Linked DNA regions of Homo sapiens: all the other regions are linked to region 1. Evidence: promoter capture Hi-C in 16 types of primary human blood cells and fetal thymus (Javierre and others, 2016). All regions are on one chromosome and are shown on one strand. Each heading gives the region's core, a stretch centred on a gene start or on the middle of the fragment in contact. The rest is flanking DNA. Distances are from core to core; before and after follow the strand shown.

Evidence for each region. The method cuts DNA at HindIII sites, captures the fragments that hold promoters and counts their contacts. A CHiCAGO score of 5 or more calls a contact.
Region 2: a fragment that was not itself captured here is called in contact with the fragment with the promoter of IDH1 in region 1 in 3 of 17 cell types (total CD4 T cells, total B cells and monocytes); the score reaches 5.7 in total CD4 T cells.
Region 3: a fragment that was not itself captured here is called in contact with the fragment with the promoter of IDH1 in region 1 in 1 of 17 cell types (total CD8 T cells); the score reaches 6.0 in total CD8 T cells.
Region 4: a fragment that was not itself captured here is called in contact with the fragment with the promoter of IDH1 in region 1 in 2 of 17 cell types (neutrophils and naive CD8 T cells); the score reaches 5.4 in neutrophils.
Region 5: a fragment that was not itself captured here is called in contact with the fragment with the promoter of IDH1 in region 1 in 3 of 17 cell types (monocytes, fetal thymus and M2 macrophages); the score reaches 7.5 in monocytes.
Region 6: a contact is called between a fragment that was not itself captured here and the fragment with the promoter of IDH1 in region 1, in 1 of 17 cell types (naive CD8 T cells). The highest score is 6.4, in naive CD8 T cells.
Region 7: a contact is called between a fragment that was not itself captured here and the fragment with the promoter of IDH1 in region 1, in 4 of 17 cell types (total CD8 T cells, naive CD8 T cells, fetal thymus and 1 more). The highest score is 7.9, in total CD8 T cells.

What each region holds. Positions count from the first base shown.
Region 1 is chr2:208,253,352-208,256,320 of GRCh38, reverse strand. IDH1 (isocitrate dehydrogenase (NADP(+)) 1) reads left to right here and starts at 1,250. Exons shown (of 10, transcript NM_005896.4): 1 at 1,250-1,382; 2 at 2,362-2,435. IDH1-AS1 (IDH1 antisense RNA 1) reads right to left here and starts at 1,088. Exons shown (of 2, transcript NR_046452.1): 1 at 890-1,088; 2 at 127-418. RefSeq lists an enhancer at 1,016-1,542 and a silencer at 1,996-2,105. The HindIII fragment of the contact is 4,060 bases long and covers 1-2,969 here.
Region 2 is chr2:207,503,679-207,506,647 of GRCh38, reverse strand. No RefSeq gene overlaps it. Among named protein-coding and RNA genes, the nearest start is that of CREB1, 25 kb to the left of the region's middle. The HindIII fragment of the contact is 449 bases long and covers 1,308-1,756 here.
Region 3 is chr2:207,543,142-207,546,110 of GRCh38, reverse strand. All of the region lies in intron 1 of CREB1 (cAMP responsive element binding protein 1), which reads right to left. Among named protein-coding and RNA genes, the nearest start is that of CREB1, 15 kb to the right of the region's middle. The HindIII fragment of the contact is 2,882 bases long and covers 33-2,914 here.
Region 4 is chr2:207,605,182-207,608,150 of GRCh38, reverse strand. CREB1 (cAMP responsive element binding protein 1) reads right to left here. Exons shown (of 8, transcript NM_004379.5): 8 at 2,163-2,969. It also overlaps a transcript of METTL21A not described here. Among named protein-coding and RNA genes, the nearest start is that of METTL21A, 19 kb to the left of the region's middle. The HindIII fragment of the contact is 6,145 bases long and covers 1-2,969 here.
Region 5 is chr2:207,632,838-207,635,806 of GRCh38, reverse strand. No RefSeq gene overlaps it. Among named protein-coding and RNA genes, the nearest start is that of METTL21A, 8.9 kb to the right of the region's middle. The HindIII fragment of the contact is 2,102 bases long and covers 417-2,518 here.
Region 6 is chr2:207,703,174-207,706,142 of GRCh38, reverse strand. No RefSeq gene overlaps it. Among named protein-coding and RNA genes, the nearest start is that of CCNYL1, 7.0 kb to the left of the region's middle. The HindIII fragment of the contact is 7,671 bases long and covers 1-2,969 here.
Region 7 is chr2:207,719,988-207,722,956 of GRCh38, reverse strand. The region is part of intron 1 of CCNYL1 (cyclin Y like 1); the gene reads right to left. Among named protein-coding and RNA genes, the nearest start is that of CCNYL1, 9.8 kb to the right of the region's middle. The HindIII fragment of the contact is 2,338 bases long and covers 292-2,629 here.

The DNA of each region.
Region 1 (2,969 bases), core at 1-2,500:
ACTTGAACCCAGGAGGCGGAAGTTGCAGTGAGCCGAGACTGCACCAGCCTGTCAGGGCAAGACTCTGTCTCATAAATAAATAAATAAATAAATAAATATTGGAGCATTAAATTCTGGGCAGCAATATACAAGCATGCTATTGTCCTACAAATCACAATATAAAATACTCTTTATTTTCATGTTTTTGAGAGCAATGAACACACAAAATATAATCTCTGGAGGAGACTAAAATTCTTTTTTCAATCCACCGTTTTCTAAGGCTTCACATCTCTAGTCCAACTTCATTGGATCACAGATAATCCCCCGCCAACTGAGCATGGTGGCTCACGCTTGTAATCCCAGGACTTTGGGAGGCCGAGGAGGGCCAATCACTTGAGTCCAGGAGTTCGAGACCAGCCTGGGCTGCTGAAACCCATCTCTACCAAAGGAAAAAGAAAAGAAAAGAAAGAAAGAAAAATTAGTTGAGTGTGATTGTGTGCACCTGTAATCCCAGCTACTCGGAAGGCTGAGGTGGGAGGATCTCTTGAGCCCAGGAAGTCAAGGCTGCAGTGAGCGGTGATCGCTCCACTGCACTCCAGCCAGGGCAACAGAGCAAGGCCCTGTCTTAAAAAAGAAAATAATAAGAATCCCATTCATTATCTTCTAATGCAAACAATCAATGGAGTTTCTAAAGACCTAGACATAGGTGGTGTCAGGACCTGCTTCTGTAACTTTTCCATCCTTTGCATTAGGCAGCGCGGAACCCCCTAGGCGACCCCGCGCTGGCCGGGAGCACTCTTTCTTCAGCCAAAGGTACGTTCCATTACCGCCCCTCGGGGGCGCGCTAGGCAGCGGGCCGGCCAAGCTGCCGCCGCCCAGGGCGCCCTGTCCCGTTCGCTTTTGTGCCGACCTGGAAACACTCTGTGGTGCTCTAGATTGTTACAAAGTTCGGGGTGGTGCAGCCCCAGCGCGCCCCGCTCCCCGGCCTGCAGGTGGCATACAAGTCTCTTCGCTGTCGGGATTCGGGACTGAATCTCTGCCGGGCGGCAACCCCTTCCCCCACCGGGATCACCGGGAAAGTGGCACCATGGATTCTCCATCTTTGACTGTGGCCACGCCCCTCTCGCTGACTCCGCCCATCCCACGGGAATTGGCGTGTGGCGATTGGAGGCGTGTCGGGGGCGGGGCTGGGGGAGGTGGGCTGAGGAGGCGGGGCCTGGGAGGGGACAAAGCCGGGAAGAGGAAAAGCTCGGACCTACCCTGTGGTCCCGGGTTTCTGCAGAGTCTACTTCAGAAGCGGAGGCACTGGGAGTCCGGTTTGGGATTGCCAGGCTGTGGTTGTGAGTCTGAGCTTGTGAGCGGCTGTGGCGCCCCAACTCTTCGCCAGCATATCATCCCGGCAGGTAACCTCAGGCTCCAAGGGGCGGCCCCGGTCCCTGGCTGTGGAGGGGTGGCTCTAATTCCGCAGAAGGCAGGAATGGGGTAAAGGAAAAAAGCGCAGATCTTGGGTGTGGAGGGAGTCAAGGCCTGCGTGCAAAGAAGGGAACAAATCCAGGTATTGAGAATGGGAAAAGAAAAGGGAAGGAGGGGATGCTGGATGCTTGGATATGCAGAAGGTCTGCTTTTGGGCCTGGGAGGGAGAAACTGGGCGGTGAGGAAGTTGGATGCAACGACAAGGGGAAAATCAGGTCTGCACTTGGGTTGGAAAATCGAGGGGTGGAAGTTGCAAGAATGCATGTAGAAGACTAAGCCTGGAGTGTAGGAGGAAGAAAACGTGCAGCAGCTGGGGGCTGGATGCAAAGAAGGCTGTAAGCCGCAGACGGGCGTCTGCAGGCAACTCAGGCGGCGAGGAATAGCCTTGAAGCCGATCCCTCGCGTCCGCCAGGGGGCGTGGAGGGGCGGAGCTCCAGCGGCCTTCAGAGGGGTCGCTAGGCCACACGGGGCGAGAGGGGGCTGGGGGAAACACCCCCGCCAGTTCCGGGTGCCTGGAGTTTAAAAGGTCCCAGCACCAGCGAGGGGAGGGGAGGGGAGGGGCGGGCGTGGAGACCTGGAAGGAGGTACCGATCCAGCCTTGATTGCAGCCCTCTTGCACAACGGCCATAAGGACGGGTGCAGGCCAAGAGCAAGGACATGCAAACCCCAAGACCTGCTAACGGGCGGCGAAGCGGGGGCACGCCCTCGCACACGCAGAGATAAATTGTGCTCCCATGACCTTTATTTGGAAAGTGCCTGCGGGCCTAAAATTGGCCTTTGTCCCACCGAGTACACTCAGCACTGTACTTTAAACCGGATAAACTGGGCTGTCTGGCAGGTACTAAAAACAGCTAAATTCTCCTGTGAGTGTTCTGTATGTTAACACTTTTATTCCTTGTTTTGTTTTAGGCGATAAACTACATTCAGTTGAGTCTGCAAGACTGGGAGGAACTGGGGTGATAAGAAATCTATTCACTGTCAAGGTGAGAATTAGCAAATTTTCCCCCTTCTTCTGTACTTTCTTTGATGTGGCAGTACAGTGTTTAACTGGTCTTGGGGGCAGGCCGAGGCACTGCAAGGGAATGAGTGAGGAATATTTCCAACAACGAATTCCAACAGCTTCCTTGTTTCTTTTAATACAGTGTCTTATCTGCAAGAGATCCTTTTTGCCCAGAAATTATTGTAGTTCATGAACTCGGCAAAAAACAATCTGGCCAAAAACTTGAGGTTGATGAAAATAATATTAAATGGCTCTTTTTTTTCATTAAACTACTCTGTATTGTTATTCCAGGTTTATTTTCTGGAATTGCACAATTATGTTAGGAGATAGGATTCAGCTACTTCATATGAGCTGGTGCCTGCTGGTCTTGGAACAGCCCTTCCTTCTGAAGTTGGGATTGGGTTGGAGACAAAATCTGAGGGGCAACAAAGGTGGAGAAGTCAGTCCAGTGGGGCCTCAAGCCCATCCCATGGAAATCAGATCCAGAAGAAATACAATTATGTTCCACATGGTAGTA
Region 2 (2,969 bases), core at 283-2,782, 750 kb after region 1:
GATTCAAGAGGAGAGGAAGCAGACTTCATCTATTGATGGGAGGAGTGGCAAAGTCACAGCAAAAAAGAGCATGCAGTGGGGAGGGATTATTATAGCTATCTCTGCAACAGACTGCCACAGTCAGAAATGAGAATGCCAGTATTACAGTAGGAACCTCATATAATTGTCATGTGGACATAGACCTATCATTTATTGGATTTTATCCCTATCAGGACCAAAGTGTAATTTGGATAAAACACTTCCAAAATATTTTGGTTTACTAATAGAAGTGTGGCAAGATCAAACAGGGTTTTAGAAAGGTTTGTTGGTTATTGAAAAAATGTTTCCATTTCTTCACTGATAAAAAAGTTCAAAAATGGGGACAAGTTGAAAATAAGTTCATAAATATTTTTCTGCTGGTCTTCTTTAAATACATGAGTATTTTGATTGAAAGTTGATGTCAACTTTTGAAAGTCAGCATTTAAAAAAATAATGTTCTACCTATGCAATGTGAATTTCCACATAAAAGAGGTCATGTTTATAGTCTGTTTTTATATGTGGTATAATTTAGAGTATGAGAAAGAGACTCCTCTTTCCCTCCCCCATCCAATGAAATTTTTACCAGTGCCTGAAATATTACCAGGAGTGATTCACTATTTGTTTCAAGCATTGCTCACTTTCACTGGGTTTTAACATAGCAAATATTTCTTGGAAGGAAAGGACAGGAAGTAGCACTGTGGTATGAATAATTTAGAGAAGCATTCTTTCTGAGGTTCCTGGGTGTCTTTGGAGGAAGGCGGTTCTGAAAGGCAGGAGGTGGGTGTGGTGGAGCAGGGGAGGATGAAGAATGTGGGATAGAGGTACTGAGCCCACATTTCTCTACCTCACATAGCCTGCTGCTTAGGAGGCATGATTAGGCTGATGTGATTCTGAACCTACTTTTTATTTTGGATAGAACATATTGTACCTATAATATGGTATTCATGCTCTCTTTGTGTTTTTTCCTAAACACTTTTCCACAAAGGGTATTTATTTACCCTTAAAATTTTATCTCCAGTAATGTGCTTTAGGGCCTTTCTCTTATAATAACTTTTAGCTTTTGTGATTTTCCTTTGGAACTAAATATCCCTTTGAGCCTGTCCTTTTCATCCTATTTTCCAAGGTCTAAGACACAGTCCTGGCATTCTAGGGGCCTCTGAAATTGCTGGTCCACTGTGGGAAAATCCCGGCTTGGGCAGAGTCAGTGTTGTTTTGTTCGCCAGGTGTTGAATAGACTGCAGAGTGAAGCTGCCTCACAGCCTGTGTTTTCCTGGTTTGAATAGCAAGCTTAGTTACTTCATTGACTTTCTTAAGGGTACCCGGTTCCTCCTTTTAATTTATGCCTTTACCCAGTGAAAACTAAATCCAACTCAGAAACCCCTCATAATTTTATTCTAGGGAGTTACTTTTGTTTGAGGAGCTAATATAGTTACAGGACTGTGATTTTATTATTCCCACAGAAAGCAAAAAGCACGAGCCTGTTCTGCGGTTCAGATGAAAAGCTCTGTGACTAACAGGATTCTTTCTTCCTTTCTTTCTTTTTTTGGGTTCCATTTCTCTCATTAGCTGCCAGGTCGTTTCATGACAGTTCTCCCAGCTGAAGTGATTTATCACGTAGAGTGAAGAAGTGGGAACTGTGTCGTTTCTTTTTACCCCCTGACAGTGGGGCTTCTCCTCCTGCTGTCAGGGCACGCCAACAGCCCATTGCTTTGGTGGTATGGGCTGAGGAAAGGAAGCTTGACTTGTAACTATTGCGGTTCTGCAGAAGGCCCTGGCATGTAGGGCAGTGAGCCAGTGGCTGCAGTCTGCCTCCTGGTGCTCCCTCCTAAAGCCAAAGGCTCTTGGAAGAAAAGACTTAGTTTTGCAGCCAAACTAGAGGTGGAGGTCTTTCTGCGGTAGTCATGGTAATCTACTCAGTATAGATTTTATAGTTAAGCAGAGGCTGCCGTAAGGAAAACTGGGGCCAGAGCTGGACGGGCATTTGCCTCTTGAAAGGCTCTGCCTGTGGCTCCTCCTCCACCCCCAGCTGGCTGATAGGATCCCCAGGAATATCCACAGGCTGTTGAAGGCTCCTCGGTGTTAGTGTCCCATCCTGTCTTCCTTAGTCCCTCTTTTCTCCCCAACCATTTCATATTAGCAAGCACATTTTTTTTTAAACTTTTAAGTTCAGGGGTAATAGGTTACGTAGGTAAGCTGCAGGTTTGTTACACAAGTAAACTTGTCTCATTTCATCACCCAGGTATTAATCCTATTAGGTATTTTTCCTGATCCTCTCCCTCCTCCCACCCTCCACCCTCCAATAGGCCCCAGTGTGTGTTATTCCCCTCTGTGTGTCCGTGTGTTCTCATCATTTAGCTTCCACTTATAAGTGAGAACATGAGGTATTTGCAGTGTGACGAATCCAATAGTAGCTTACAGTTATGACAACAGCTGAAGAAGCTGGTGATAAAGGCATGTTTTGTCTTGATGTCAGTTAGAGGTCTACCTGAAAAATAGGTGAGCCATAGACAGTGAATAAATCAAACAAGTGCAAATTTGATAACAAGATGGACCAATAAGTTGTCAATAAGTGGAGAACAAATGTAATACAATTCCTGGTATTCTCTTGGAGAAACCTCTGCTTATGAGTCCTCTAGCTTTCAGCCTCTGTGCCTGGGCTCCATCTATATATCTAGACTCATCCCAGTTACTGAGCCAGTTATGACAAATAGGGAATATGTCAGTATACCAGAAAAGTATAATCCAGAAAAGAGAAACCCTGCTGAGCATTTGAAACAGAGGGAATATGCAGGGAACTGGTTATACAGGAGACAAAAGAGCTGAGAAGCCAAACAATGGATGGTGAGATAATCCAAAGAATTGTGATAGCAGAAAACCAGTACCACTTCTAAACTGGAGGTCAACAGGGAGGAGGTCGTATTTTTTTTTTTTTAAACCGAAGAGGAGGCACT
Region 3 (2,969 bases), core at 224-2,723, 710 kb after region 1:
AAACTCAAAGTAGAAAATCTTCCTTTTAAGCTTTGGACAATGAATCTAATTTCCTCAGTTAAAGAAAAATATGTTTGGCCAGGTGCGGTGGCTCATGCCTGTAATCCCAAGACTTTGGGAGGCCAAGGCGGGCAGATCACCTGAGGTCGGGAGTTCAAGACCAGCCTGGCCAACATGGAGAAACCTTGTCTCTACTAAAAAAATACAAAATTAGCCAGGCGTGGTGGCGCACGCCTGTAATCCCAGCTACTCGGGAGGCTGAGGCAGGAGAATCGCTTGAACCTAGGAGGCAGAGGTTGCAGTGAGCCGAGATTGCGCCATTGCACTCTAGCCTGGGCAGAAAGAGCGAAACTCCATCTCACAAAAAAAAAAAAAAAAAGTTCACTTCCTTTAATCTGTACAACTCTAAAGAGAAATTGTTCTTAACCTTTACCTTTCAAATTTATGACCCTTTAATAGAGAATCACTCATTAAACAAATATTCTGCGCCTACTACGTAGTAACGACTACAGCATTTTCAGCAGAACTGAAAATTACTACATAGTAGTAGTCCCATACTATGGGACTATAGCATAAAACATATAAGAACCTTTCTCTGGAATTAGGCCAGGCGGAGTGGCTCACGTCTGTAATCCCAGCACTTTGGGAGGCCAAGGCGGGTGGATCACTTGAGGTGAGAAGTTCGTGACCAGCTGGCCAACATAGTGAAACCTCATCTCTACTAAAAATACAAAAATTAGCCGGGCATGGTGGCACATGACTGGAGTCCCAGCTACTCAGGAGGCTGAGGCAGGAGAATCACTTGAACCCAGGAGACAGAGGTTGCAGTGAGCCGAGATCATGCCACTGCACTCCAGTCTGGGCAACAGAGTGAGACTGTCTCGAACAAAACAAAACAAAAATAAAAGAACCTTTCTCTGGAATGCTTCTACATTGTTGGTGGTGTTAGTTCAACCATTGTGGAAGACAGTGTGGCAATACCTCAAAAACCTAGAGGCAGAAATACCATTTGACCCAGCAATCCCCTTACTGGATATATACCCAAAGGAATATAAATCATTCTATTATAACAATACATGCACGCATATGTTAACTGCAGCACTATTCACAATAGCGAAGACATGCAATCAACCTAAATGCCCATCAATGACAGACTAAAGAAAATGTGGTACATACACACCATGAAATACTATGCAGCCATAAAGAACAAGATCATGTCCTTTGCATGAACATAGATGGAGCTGGAGGCCTTTATCCTCAGCAAACTAATACAGGAACAGAAAACCAAATACCGCATGTTCTCATTTGTAAGTGGGAGGTACATGATGAGAACACATGGACACATCGGTGGTTGGGGGGACAACACACACTGGGGCCTGTCAGAGGGTTGGGGGTGGGAGGAGGAAGAGCATCAGGAAGAACAGCTGGTGAATGCTGGGCTTAATACCTGGGTGATGGGATGATGTGTGCAGCAAACCACCATGGCACACGATTACCTATGTAACAAACCTGCACATCCTGCACATGTACCCCTGAACTTAAAAGGTGGAAATAAAAAAGAACCTTTCTCTCAAGAGCTTACAGAAACTAATGAGAGATAAAATATGTACTATATATGAAAGAGCTTGACAGGTATAAATTATTATAACTAGTTTAACTATAAATTCCTTCCAAACAAGTACTTAACATCAGTAATTTAAAACCATAAACTTCTATTTGGAAATGGTAGGAATACAATGAACTGTGGAAAAAAAGAAAGAATAGCTGCCTATTTATGGTAATCTGATGCAGATCTGATTAAGAACATAATGAAATCAATGTATTTTTTCATGATCTTGGCTAGAATATTTACCCTAAGTGAGCTACTTACAAGCCTAAACTAATATTGCTTAAAAAGAAAAATTTTGGCCGGGCAGTGGCTCACGCCTGTAATCCCAGCACTTTGGGAGGCCAAGGCGGGCAGATCATGAGGTCAGAAGATCGAGACCACAGTGAAACTCTGTCTCTACTAAAAATACAAAAAATTAGCCAGGCGTGGTGGCGGGCCCCTGTAGTCCCAGCTACTCAGGAGGCTGAAGCAGGAGAATGGCATGAACCCAGGAGGCAGAGCTTGCAGTGAGCTGAGATGGTGCCACTGCACTCCAGCCTGCACAACACAGCGAGACCTCGTCTCAAAAAACAAACAAACAAACAAAAAAACAAATTTTGGCTGGGCGCCGTGGCTCACGCCTGTAATCCCCAGCACTCTGGGAGGCTGAGGTGGGCAGATCACAAGGTCAAGAAATCGATACCATCCTGACCAACATGGTGAAACCCTGTCTCTACTAAAAATACAAAAAAATTAGCTGGGTGTGGTGGCATGCACCTGTAGTCCCAGTTACTCGGTAGGCTGAGGCAGGAGAATCACTTGAACCCAGGAGGCAGAGGCTGCAGTGAGCCAAGATAGCACCACTGCACTTCAGCCTGGTGACAGACTCCATCTCAAAAATAAATAAATAAATAAATAAATAAAATTAATAACCATTAATAAAACAGAAACCCTGAAAACTTTACAAAGAGATAATGCAGTACTACAAGAGTGATGAAGACTACGCCTTACTTACTGTGAGTTTCTACACACATCACTTAAATTCTCCACGACTCAGCTTATTTGTAAAAAATGAAGGAATGACTACTCACTCCCCCTTCATAGGTAAATGTTTGTAACTGTGAATTTCCCAAATATGGTAGAGTTTATAAGTTATAAACTACCATCGCAGTCATTATAATAAATTCTCTCATAATAAATAACAAATTCTTGGATCATAGTTACAACTGGGCCTCTGTATCCAAAGATTCAGCATCTGTGGATTCAACCAACTGCAGATCAAAGATATTTGGGGGAAAAAAATCCCCAAGTCCCAGAAGTAAAGCTTGAATTTGCTGCATGCTGACTCCTATGCTGAACCCATAAGAGTCAAGTGATGGGC
Region 4 (2,969 bases), core at 294-2,793, 650 kb after region 1:
GCCATATTGAGGCAGGGTGATGGTCCTTTATGACCCTGCATGGACTAGTGGATACAAGGTTTATAACCTGAGGCTGAAGACAATATTGGAGAGGGAGTCAGTTGGGAGCCATCAGCCACCAACATTCCTGGAAGCTGGGGAAATGAGTGTTTCAGGTGTGGGGTGTGTGTGAGAGGAGAGCGAGCGCGCGTATCTGGGCAGCACACCACAGTGTCCACTACCAATGTCAGTGAAGTTGGGACTTATTTTTTACTTACATATTTTATCACATAAATGTACATTTTAAGTGTGCTTGTTTTGTTTTCAAAGATAGAAACCTAATCCAAACCTATTTTACTAAGTCTTGATTCTCACTCACATTGCCCAATTTCTTTAAAGTTATGCAGTTAAATAATCCAGTGGTATCACTAATTTTTCCCCCAATTAATACCAAATACTGCTGCCAAGATGCTATGTTAAAATGTATGTATGATACCAGGTTCTTGGAACCCCACTGTAAAGAATGCTGTTTTTGAAGTAGATTATCACTTAAAGGGTAGCTTGCTTTAGTTCATGGTAGATGGCCTGGATACCATCTTCAAATAGTAGTTGATCAAAATGCTTTTATCTGTTAACTGAACACTAGATTGCAAACTCAGGGCAGAATAACATTATTTGGAATGTTTTATCTTAGCAAATACAATTTATGCTCCTAGAAGGCAAGGATGATAGCATATATCCATATATCGTTTTCTTTCTTTCTTTCTTTCTTTCTTTTTTTTGAGATGGAATTTTGCTTGTTACCCAGGGTGGAGTGGAGTGCAGTGGTGTGATCTTGGCACACTGCAGCCTCTGCCTGGGTTCAGGCGATTCTTCTGTCTCAGCCTCCTGAGTAGCTGGGATTACAGGCATCTGCCACCATGCCCAGCTAATTTTTTGTATTTTTAGTAGAGATGGGGTTTTAATTATATTGGCCAGGCTGGTCTTGAACTCTTGACCTCGTGATCGACCTGCCTCGCCCTCCCAAAGTGCAGGGATTACAGGTGTGAGCCACCAGGCCCGACCTTATATTCTGTATTTCAAGTGGTAACATGGTACCCTGTTCAAAAAGGGAGTTCACACTGACTCATGAAAAATACACATTCCTTTACAGATGAGTTACCATATGCCTAATTTATGTGCTTTATTTCTCCTTGCCGAAGGTATGGGAGAAATAAATTCTCAGGGATATTAAAGTATCAAGGCATATGCTGAATAACAAAATTACCATAATGCAAAAGATTCACCTCCAATAATAATACCATTTAATTGCTATTTATGGGAAGCATTTACTGCCAATTCTTTAAAAATGAACAAAAATAAAATTTTAAAGTACTTTAAAAAATCACTATATAATGTACCCCAGTACTGTTAAGTGGCCCTAGATATAGGACTTCACTTAATAGTTGGTAAAACAGACTTGTAATTTGTGTTAGTGTTAGACGAAGTCACAACCTCACTGCTCCCCAGAACCTCTACCTAGAGAGAAGTAGCTTTCTCAAGGTCTTTAACATGAATTGGTAAGTACAGTGAGTATAGAGAACCCTCCTCTGGGAAGCTGGAAACTTGTACTATCTTAGCACTGACATAAACAGCATGACACCGGACAGTCCTTAGCTCTGTTTTACCTTAAAACTTGAAGTTTTTTTTGAGACGGGAGCCTTGCTCTGTCGCCCAGGCTGGAGTGCAATGGCGCAATCTCGGCTCACTGCAACCTCCGCCTCCTGGGTTCAAGTGATTCTCCTGCCTCAGCCTCCCGAGTAGCTGGGATTACAGGCGCCTGCCACCATGCCTGGCTAATTTTTGTATTTTTTAGTAGAGATGAGGTTTCACCATGTTGGTCAGGCTGGTCTCGAACTCCTGACCTCAGGTGATCTGCCCTCCTCTGCCTCGGCCTCCCAAAGTGATGGGATTACAGGCGTGAGCCACCCGCACCCCGGCCCAACTTGAAGATTTAATTGTTAGCTTTCTGCTCTAAAATCATGTTACACCTTTCCTTCTACAACCAGAGGGGTTAAAAATTTAGTAACACTAGAAAAGATGGCATATTGAAAACTTGTTTCTTTGCTAAGAACAGTTATTTCTGAGGATATTAGAAAGAAAACAGTATTAACAGAGATGAGAAAAGGAAAGCCTTATGAAAGTCTGTGCCACTTCTAATTTTAATTCCAGAAAAAAATGCCTAGACTGTAAAGTTTGACATAAAAATAGTAATCAACATAAGTTAATAAAAATTGCTTAGCAGATACCTAATAATCATTAGGAAACAATATCCAAATATGAAGAAAACCATAATTCAGAAATAACTTTTACTTCTCAGTATCCTGGAGATACAACTTGTGTAGACCTAGTTACCAACCTCTGTATATCTGTAACAGTAAAAAATTTCAAACAGCCAAATGTCCCCAGAAGAGGACTGGTTAAACTGTATCTGTACAATGGCAGCAGTTTATAAACCACTGTTTGTACCTACCTTTTGTGTAAAAAAAGGGAGAGGGAGGAGGAGAGAACATACATTATATTTGTGTATATATGCACAGACTGTCACAAAAAACATAACACAAAAAACTTCTTACAGTTTGCCCTTTTCCATGTTTCTTTTTTTTAGAAGTGTACATATTACATAAAGTAAGTTTGAAAACAATGAGGACATTATAAAGCAAAAACTTATAGGCGAAAATATTATAAGGGCCTAGTACCCAGAATATATAAGGAACTCAGAACCCAACAACAAAATTTCAATGAACAAAGGACCTCAACAGACATTTCTTCAAAGAAGATACGCAGATGGCCAAAGACAACAAAAGATGCTCCACATCATTAGTAATCAGGGAAATGCAAATCAAAACCACAATGAGAGACCACACCCATGAGGATGGCTATAATTTTTAAAATGGCAAAATAAGTGTTGGTGAAGGTGTGGAGAAATTGGAACCCTCATACATCAATGG
Region 5 (2,969 bases), core at 218-2,717, 620 kb after region 1:
CGGGAGCTCTGTGAATGCCACTCCAGGCCTCTCTGCCCTGGAGCATGCATTGGCAATAAATTCCCTATGTGCGGCTCAGTCCAGATCTTTCTGCCTCTAGGAGCAGGCCTGTGGGCAGAACCTGCACTCTCCTCTGCTCCTTCATGCTATAGGAATTACATGCGAGGCCTGCCCCATCCAGTGCTGGATGAGTCACCTTAGCGTTCTTCGTTCTTCGTAGGTCCATCTGCCTGCAGATATAAGCCTCGCCCTCCAACTTCTTCTGTCTCAGTAAATAGAGGGGATGTTTTTGCCTTCAGCTTTAGTCGTTGTTTTATTTCTCAGCTTGTTTAGAACCCAGAGAAAATAAAGTGAGAGGCTGTTTACTGGTGCTCCGTCACAGACCCTGACAGTATCGTAAGTAAATGAATGAAGCTTGTGGGGACAAGACAACAAGCAGGGGAGGGGACCGCGGCACACTGAGGGGAGACCATAATGTCCAAAGGAAGAGCCAGCTTGGCTCTAGCTCATTGCCATCTTGTGGGCATTTGGACCCATGTTTGCCAGATATTTCAAAATTTTCAAAGAAAGCCATTTCAAATAATTATCTTAATTTTACTATCTTGATTTTTATCTGACATCTTGCTATGGTTTGAATGTGTTCCCCCAAAAGGCATGCATTGGAAACTTAATCAGTGTTGGGAGGTGGGGCCTAATGGAGGTATTTAGGTCATAAGGCTCCACCCTCATGAATGGATTAATAATGATTATAAAAGGGCTTGAGGGTGCAAGTTTGAACTCTTGCTCTCTCTCACTCCTTCTTTGTGTTTCCTTCATGGGATAGCACAGCAAGAAGGTTCTCCCCAGATGCCAGCCCCTTGATCTTGGACGTTCTAGCCTCCAGAACCAGAAGTCAATAAATTTCTGCTCATTATAAATTACTCAGTCTTAGATAATTCTTTTTTTTTTTTTGAGATGGAGTCTCGCCCTGTCACCCAGGCTGGAATACAGTGGTGCGATCTTGGCTCACTGCAACCTCCACCTCCTGAGTTCAAGTGATTCTCCTGCCCCAGCCTCCGAAGTAGCTGGGATTACAGGTGCACGCCACTATGCCCAGCTAATTTTTGTATTTTTAGTAGAGACAGGGTTTCACTATGTTGGTCAGGCTGGTCTCAAACTCTTGACCTCGTGATCTGCCCGCCTTGGCCTCCCAAAGTGTTGGGATTACAGGCGTGAGCCACCTCGCCCAGCCGGTAATTCTTCTATAGCAGCACAAAATGGACTAAGATACATCTCCTTACTTTCAAATATTGACACTAAACTAAAAAACAAAACACCATGAGAGCCAAGTCTGCATGGGACACACAAAACACATCTGTAGGTCAAGGCTTTTTGGAGGCTGCCAGTCGGGGACACTGCCTCCATCCTGCCCTGGATCCTCAGCACTGCATCCTCTCTGGTCACATTAGCATGTAACTCCGCTCCCACTCCTGTACATACCACCAGGAAAACCTGAACTCAAAATGCCCTGTGTCACCTGGGAAGAGGCACTGCTCAAATACATGAGCTCTTGGAATTACAAGCTAGCACTTTCACTTGACTATTTACTATTCTCTTCTTGATGTTGTCTTTTGGTTTGACTTACTTAAAATGTACCTGCTTTTCTAATTACACACAAATTAACCTATAAATTATGAAAAGGCAAATGGCTTCATACCTTTTCTTGGAATCATCAAAAGATAAGACAGTCAATAGCTTCTTACCCAAACATGTACTATACCTGGGAATATTATTGAACCCTAGGTTAATGAAACACAAATAATGAAAGTAACTACAAATTCTTCAGCATCATTAACTCAAAGGTATCTAATAAGTTGAATTCGCATTTAAACACTTTTGGAGTGAGGTGGGCAATAATTTGATGTGATGTATTGTAACATTCATTCATTCATTCATTCATTCATTCATTCAACAAATAGTTGTCCAGCCGTTTCCAGCTGAAAGCCACAGATGTGACTCTAAAACCCAACAGAACACAAGTCTGGAAACTTCTCCCCTAGCTGCTGCTTCTATTTTGTTGTAGAACAAGAGCATCAGGCATGGCTGCAGTTGTCCAGGAGCTGTGATCAAAAATGCGATTTCATCAGCAAAATGAAAAATCCAAATGTAGCTATTTATGCTGCATATTCCCTCAAGGTAGCGCTGAGCAGTTGTCTTGTTTTTTCTCTCTGCAGTCAGGTCTTACGGAAATACTGAGAAGCTAGACAAGAACTTAAAAAAGACAGTGGTGAACACAGTTATACCAAGACTCTGTCTATGGTTGTCTTTCTTTAGCACCAGCTGGAGCTTTATTCCTTAAGGCTTTTTGAATATCCTTAAGCCAACTCCTTAGCTGTATGGTAGTGTCTTCAGGGCAGCCAGCCTCACCCTTGAGGGCACCCAGGGTCTGTGACTCACACAGAGAGTTGTGTAGTGATGATGCAAAAATACCTCTCCTGCAGGGTGTAAGTTGTTAGTGGAGTTTGGGTAGTTCAAAGCTTTCATTCTTCTGTTTGACTTAATCTTAAGAGTTATCTTGTGCCACTTACCCCTTGCTCCTGGCTGGTCAGTTGACAGTTTCTTCTGCCTGGGGGCTTTTGCAGTTTCTGTTCCCTTGCTTGAAATGCCATTCCCTTGGCTCTTCAAGTGGCTGTTTTCTTCTACTCTTTTAAATTTCCATTTAAATGTCACCTCTTCAGAGCCCTCTCCTTTCCCCAGCTCAAATGGCCTGCCCTTGTGTATTAATGGAGATAGGCTATATGCTACAATAGTGAATAAATTCCAAATGTCAGTGGTTAACATGACAAAGATTGATTTCTTGCTCATGTCACAATCCACTGTGAGTTGAGCAACTCTCCTCTAAGCAATGACTCAGGGATCCAGCTTCTCCAGTTTGCCCACCTCTGAGGGTGTGCAGATGGGGAAGAAAGGGCTTTTAGGCAGGGACATTA
Region 6 (2,969 bases), core at 161-2,660, 550 kb after region 1:
TCTTTTTCTCATGATGGCTCTATTGCCCTATTGTTAAGACAACTCTATTTTTATCCTCACAGCATGCAGTCTACCCTTAAGTACCTCTAGAAATTTTCTATCAGAAGGGATTAGGACAGCAATCTGGATGGATATAGGGCCCAGGAAACTAGTCTTAAGCGATATGTTTGTATAGAAAGCACATTAAAACAAATGAACAAACAAAATACCTACTTAGATTGAATTTTATTGGGAATAGGTCCTTGTCTCCTGTGCTGAGCAGACCTTGCTTCTATAGGGTGCTTGTTTGATGAGTCTACATTGAATAATGCCACACACTCCATGAGCTGTTTCTTTTCAACACACAGATGAAATAGAATACATTTTTTTTTTTGGATGGAGTCTCACTCTGTCGCCCAGGCTGGAGTACAATGGCACAATCTTGGCTCATTGCAACCTCCGCCTCCTGGGTTCAAGCAATTCTCTTGCCTCAGCCTCCCGAGTAGCTGGGACTACAGGTGTGTGCCACCACGCCCAGCTAACTTTTTTGTACTTTTTAGTAGAGATGGGGTTTCACCATATTGGTCAGGCTCGTCTCGAACTCCTGACCTCAATTGATCCACGCACCTCTGCCTCCCAAAGTGCTGGAATTACAGGCATGAGCCACCGCACCCGGCCATGAATGCTCTTATTAAAAAAAAATTCTGCCCAGCACTTTGGGAGGCCGAGGCGGGCGGATCACAAGGTCAGGAGATCGAGACCATCCTGGCTAACACGGTGAAACCCCGTCTCTACTAAAAAGTACAAAAAATTAGCTGGGCGCAGTGGTGGGCGCCTGTAGTCCCAGCTACTCGGGAGGCTGAGGCAGGAGAATGGCGTGAACCTGGGAGGCGGAGCTTGCAGTGAGCCAAGATCGCGCCACTGCACTCCAGCCTGGGTGACAGAGCGAGACTCTGTCTCAAAAAAAAAAAAAAAAAAAAAAATTCTGGTTATGTAATCAATGCTTTGCTCAGGAAAGAAAAAGAAAAACTCTGAGCTCACAGGAGCAATTGAAGCTAGAGTGTCCAAACTGGACCTGTCCTGTTCTTTGCAGCCATAGTGTTAGCTTCAAGATCTAAAGAGTTGGGAACTCAGTAGCTGCCCTGCTCTGGCCATCTGATAAACCTCTATTCAGTCTTTGAGCCTCAGAGTGCCTATGAATTTCTTTGATTCCCTCAAGGCTGTGAGATTCTGCATCTTCAAAGCAATCAGTTCCTTCTCCAAACCCTTACTATAGAGCAACATTGTATTACAGTGTGTGCTAATTGTTTACTTGTCTGACACCCCCATTAAACTAGGAACTTGCTGAGATCAGAGCTAATTTAGTCATTTTTCAATATCTCCCACACTAACTAGCTTGTAGCACTCTCAACAAATTTTTCCTGAATGAATGGATAAATAGATGAAAAAGTTGAATTGACAGTACTAACAATCACAATTTGAGAATTGTGTGCAATGATTCCTTATTTTGTTCAGTATTTCCTATTCTGTTTTATGCCTCTGCTTCTAGTTTCTGTTCTCCTGTAGCATTTTAAAAAACAACAACCATTGTATAAAGCTCATGAGTTCGGGTCAGGAAATTAGGCAGGCCACTATAGGGACTGTTCATGCCTGCTCCAGGATGACTGGGGCCTCATCTGGAGTGGACGTAACGATTGGACCTGGCTGAGACTGCTCACCTGGGGCCATATGTCTGGAGTGTTAGCTCTAGCTGTCAGTGGGGTTCTTCCACTCTTCTCCAAATCACATCCCCAAGACTGAAAGTTTATGATGACTTGCAAATCAAGTGACTAGCCCGTGAAGGCTGGCACATGTGGGACTGGTTGCACATTCCCTATAGCATGGTAATCTCACAATAGTCAGACTTCTTACAGAATGCAGCTATCTAATCTCAGTGTGTTTCACTTCTCCAGGAAACATTAATCTAAAAACATGGGGCAAGTAGAAGAGGTGTGGTGAGCAACATTCCTTCAAGTGAAGGGGAAAAAAATCTCCAAATCTCAAAACCAGTTTCTTCACTATTGTGAAGTTCATCCAGATCATCAGCTTACAATGGATTATGCTAAAATTACTGTAACCAAATCTAAGTCTTATGCACTATCTGGCATCCAGAGAAGCCCATTTTTCTCCTTGCCTCTGAGTTTTTTAGGAGTTAAAAAGAACGCAGCTTTCTGCAGGTGCTTTCACCTGCATAAGTCTATTTTGCTGTAAGTCTATTTTGTCGCATCAACTTATATTTTCAATATATATTCAACTTACATTTTTTTGAAAACAACACACACACACACATTAAATCAAACTAAAAAGAGTAATAGGGGAAATTTCCTAAAATTTACACATTAAGAACATCATATTTTTCTTTTTTTTGTTTTTTTGAGACGGAGTCTCACTCACCAGCCCAGGCTAGAGTGCAGTGGCACGATCTTGGCTCACTGCAACCACCATCTCCCAGGTTCAAGCGATTCTTCCATCTCAGCCTCTCAAGTAGCAGGGATTACAGGCACCTGCAACCATGCCTGGCTACTTTTTTTTTTTTTTTTGAAATGGAGTCTTGCTCTGTCACCCAGGCTGGAGTGCAGTGGCACAATCCTGGCTCACTGCAACCTTTGCCTTCCAGGTTCAAGCGATTCTCCTGCCTCAGCCTCCCGACTACGTAGCTGGGACTACAGGCACGTGCCACCACGTCTGGCTAATTTTTTGTATTTGAGACAGGGTTTCACCATGTTAGCCAGGATGGTCTGCATCTCCTGACCTCGTGATCTGCCCTCCTCGGCCTCCCAAAGTGCTGGGATTACAGGTGTGAGTCACTGCACCCGGCCATAAAACAAGATTTTAAATGTGATTATTATTGCTACTTTTTTTTTTTTAAGAGTCTCGCTGTGTCACCCAGGCTGGAGTGCAGTGGCACAATCTCAGCTCACTGCAACCTCTACCTCCTGGGTTCAAGCGAT
Region 7 (2,969 bases), core at 211-2,710, 530 kb after region 1:
AGAAGAGTCTCACTCTTTCGCCCAGGCTGGAGTGCTGTGGTGCAATCTTGGCTCACTGCAACCTCCACCTCCCGGGTTCAAGTGATTCTCCTGCCTCAGCCTCCCAACTAGCTGGGACTACAGGCACGCATCACCATGCCCGGCTAATTTTTGTATTTTTAGTAGGGACTGGGTTTCACCATGCTGGCCAGGCTGGTCTCAAACTCCTGACCTTGTGATCTGCCCCCCTCGGCCTCCCAAAGTTCTGGGATTACAGGCGTGAGCCACCACACCCAGCCTCTACCTAAAGCTTCTAAAAGGATTCATGACTACTTCCTTTCAAAAAGAAAGCAAATATACTACCATTTGAATCTAAAAAATAACTAATGTTTACAGAAGAAGCCATATTATGAATCAGTACCTATGTCATGATAAAGTTTAATTAGGAATTTTCAATGAAGTCCAGGAAAATTAAGTACCAAAATCAAAGAGGAGCAGGCTTCACACACACACCTCCCCCGCCCCAAATCAAGATGTGCTACTATGTATTTAAATATAAGAAAACCAAGATGTGCTACTGTGTAAATATAAGAAATATCCAAGGCGGCTGGGCATGGTGGCTCATGCCTGTAATCCCAATACTTTGGGAGGCTGAGGCTGGCAGATCATGAGGTCAGGAGTTCGAGACCAGCCTGACCAACCCAGTGAAACCCCATCTCTACTAAAAATACAAAAAAATCAGCCAGGCGTGATGGCGTGCACCTCTAGTCCCAGCTACTCGGGAGGCTGAAGCAGAAGAATCGCTTGAACCCAGGAGGCAGAGGTTGCAGTGAACCAAGATCACACCACTGCCCCCCAGCCTGGTCAACAGAGCAAGACTACATCTCAAAAAAAAAAAAAAAAATCCAAGGCAACTAGGATAACAGAAATGATAAGATATAGAGAAAAAAGCCAAATAAGCCCAAGTAACAAGCTGGCACTCCCTCAACTCAGGGGTTTTAGGGTGGGCATGTGACTTACAGCTGGCCAATCAATTACATTTCTCTTGGGACTTCCCAAGAACCAAAGGAGAAAGGCAGGGCTGTACTCTAGCACTGCTAGCCAGCCAGGAGCTGCCACCGAGGCTGAGGCAGGAGAATTGCTTGAGCTCAGGAGGCAGAGGTTGCAGTGAGCCGAGATGGCGCCACTGCACTCCAGCCTGGCAACAGAGCAAGACTCTGTCTCAAAACAAAAAAAAAAAAAACAAAAAACTCCTAAGAATGTTTGAAACTAGAAGAAATAGTTTTTGATATCATGGTTAGGGGTTATGTATAAAATTGTATTTTAAGACCCACCAGTTTTGTATTATCAATTTAAATTGCAACTTAATTCGAAAGCATGATAGTATGATGGGGGGCAAGTAAGACAAAAAAAAATTAAACTCAGGTCTTAATATAAACACCCCCCTCAGGGGAAGAAATCTGTAAGATCCACTGACATTGAACACTGCTTCTCCTTGAATCTATCAGCCATCTCAATTTCACAGATGTTAATTAAAAATGTAAAAATATGGAACTTAGAATAAATGAAATGCATTATTACTAAAGGCTAAAAGTGTTAAAATTATGCAATTGTAAACTGTAAAGAAATTATTTTTCTTGTCAAAATATTAAAGGGAGAGGGCAGCAACCAAGAAAGTAACTGACAGAAGCAGCATATTTCAGAGAAAGAGATTGAGTTCAACATATTGATTTCAATATATCCCAATTAAACAGGAGACATTGGCAGTTTCTGGGCCAACTGCTGGGCATCTGTTTATTTAAAGGCTTACTGCATTTACTGACCTGCTCTACCATACTGCACACTGTATTAGTCTTACGGTCCATAACACAAACATTTCAAACCTCTCAACTATGATGTAAACGCTGAGATTTTATCTAAGTTCACACGTTCCACCCATCAGGTAAGTCTTACCTGATGGGTCTTGAGCTGCCCTGCCTCATCTGAGGTCACACAGTACCAGCCAAGCTCCAGTCTCATGCTCACTCATGCCTTGCTTTTGCTTTCCTAGCTTCTGACAATCCTAAATCTGGTTTCCGAAACACTGCTCTACCTCCTTCTATGTCAGTGTTCAGTCTTGCTTTAACTTACCTTCACGCCTCAATCTATGTTTTAGTGATCGTGACTGAGCTGTGACATTTCATATGCTATAGTATACCTTTCTCCCTTTGTGTATTTCTTAATAGCACTTAACTCCTTTTTTAGACTTTTAAGAGTATTTCTGGGTGGAGTGCAGTGACTCACACCTGTAATCCCAGCACTCTGGGAGGCTGAGGCAGAAGGATCACTTGAGAACAGTTCAAGACCAGCCTGGGCAACATAACATAGTGAGACCCCCATCTCTACAAAAATTTTTTAAAAGATTAGTTGGGTGTGGAGGCACATGCCTGTAGTTCCAGCTATTTGGGAGGCTGAAGTGGCAGGATAACTTGAGCCCAGGGATTTGAGGTTACAGTGAGCTCTAATGGCACTACTGTGCTCCAGCCTGGGCGACAGGCAGAGTTGTGACCCTGTCTCATACAGAGAAAAGAAAAAAAAAAAAAAAGTCTGGGTTACAAGTACCTCCATTTCATTTTTCATTATCCAATGTTATTATTTTAACTCTAAAGCTTAATTAACTGAAAAAAAGGTGGAAAAAAGGCAGTATCCAAAGAAGCCCATGAGTCATTCTATAAATTCTAATCCTATATGCCATATATCTGAAATTTACATTCTTGATCTACCAAGCCTTTTTTTTTTTTTTTTTTTTTTGAGACGGAGTCTCACTCTACCACCCAGGCTGGAGTGCAGTGGCATGATCTCGGCTCACTGCAACCTCTGCCTCCTGAGTTGAAGCGATTTTTCTGCTTCAGCCTCCCAGGCAGCTGGGACTACAGGCATGTGCCACCACACCCAACTAATTTTTGTATTTTTATTAGAGATGGGGTTTCACCATGTTGGCCAGGATGGTC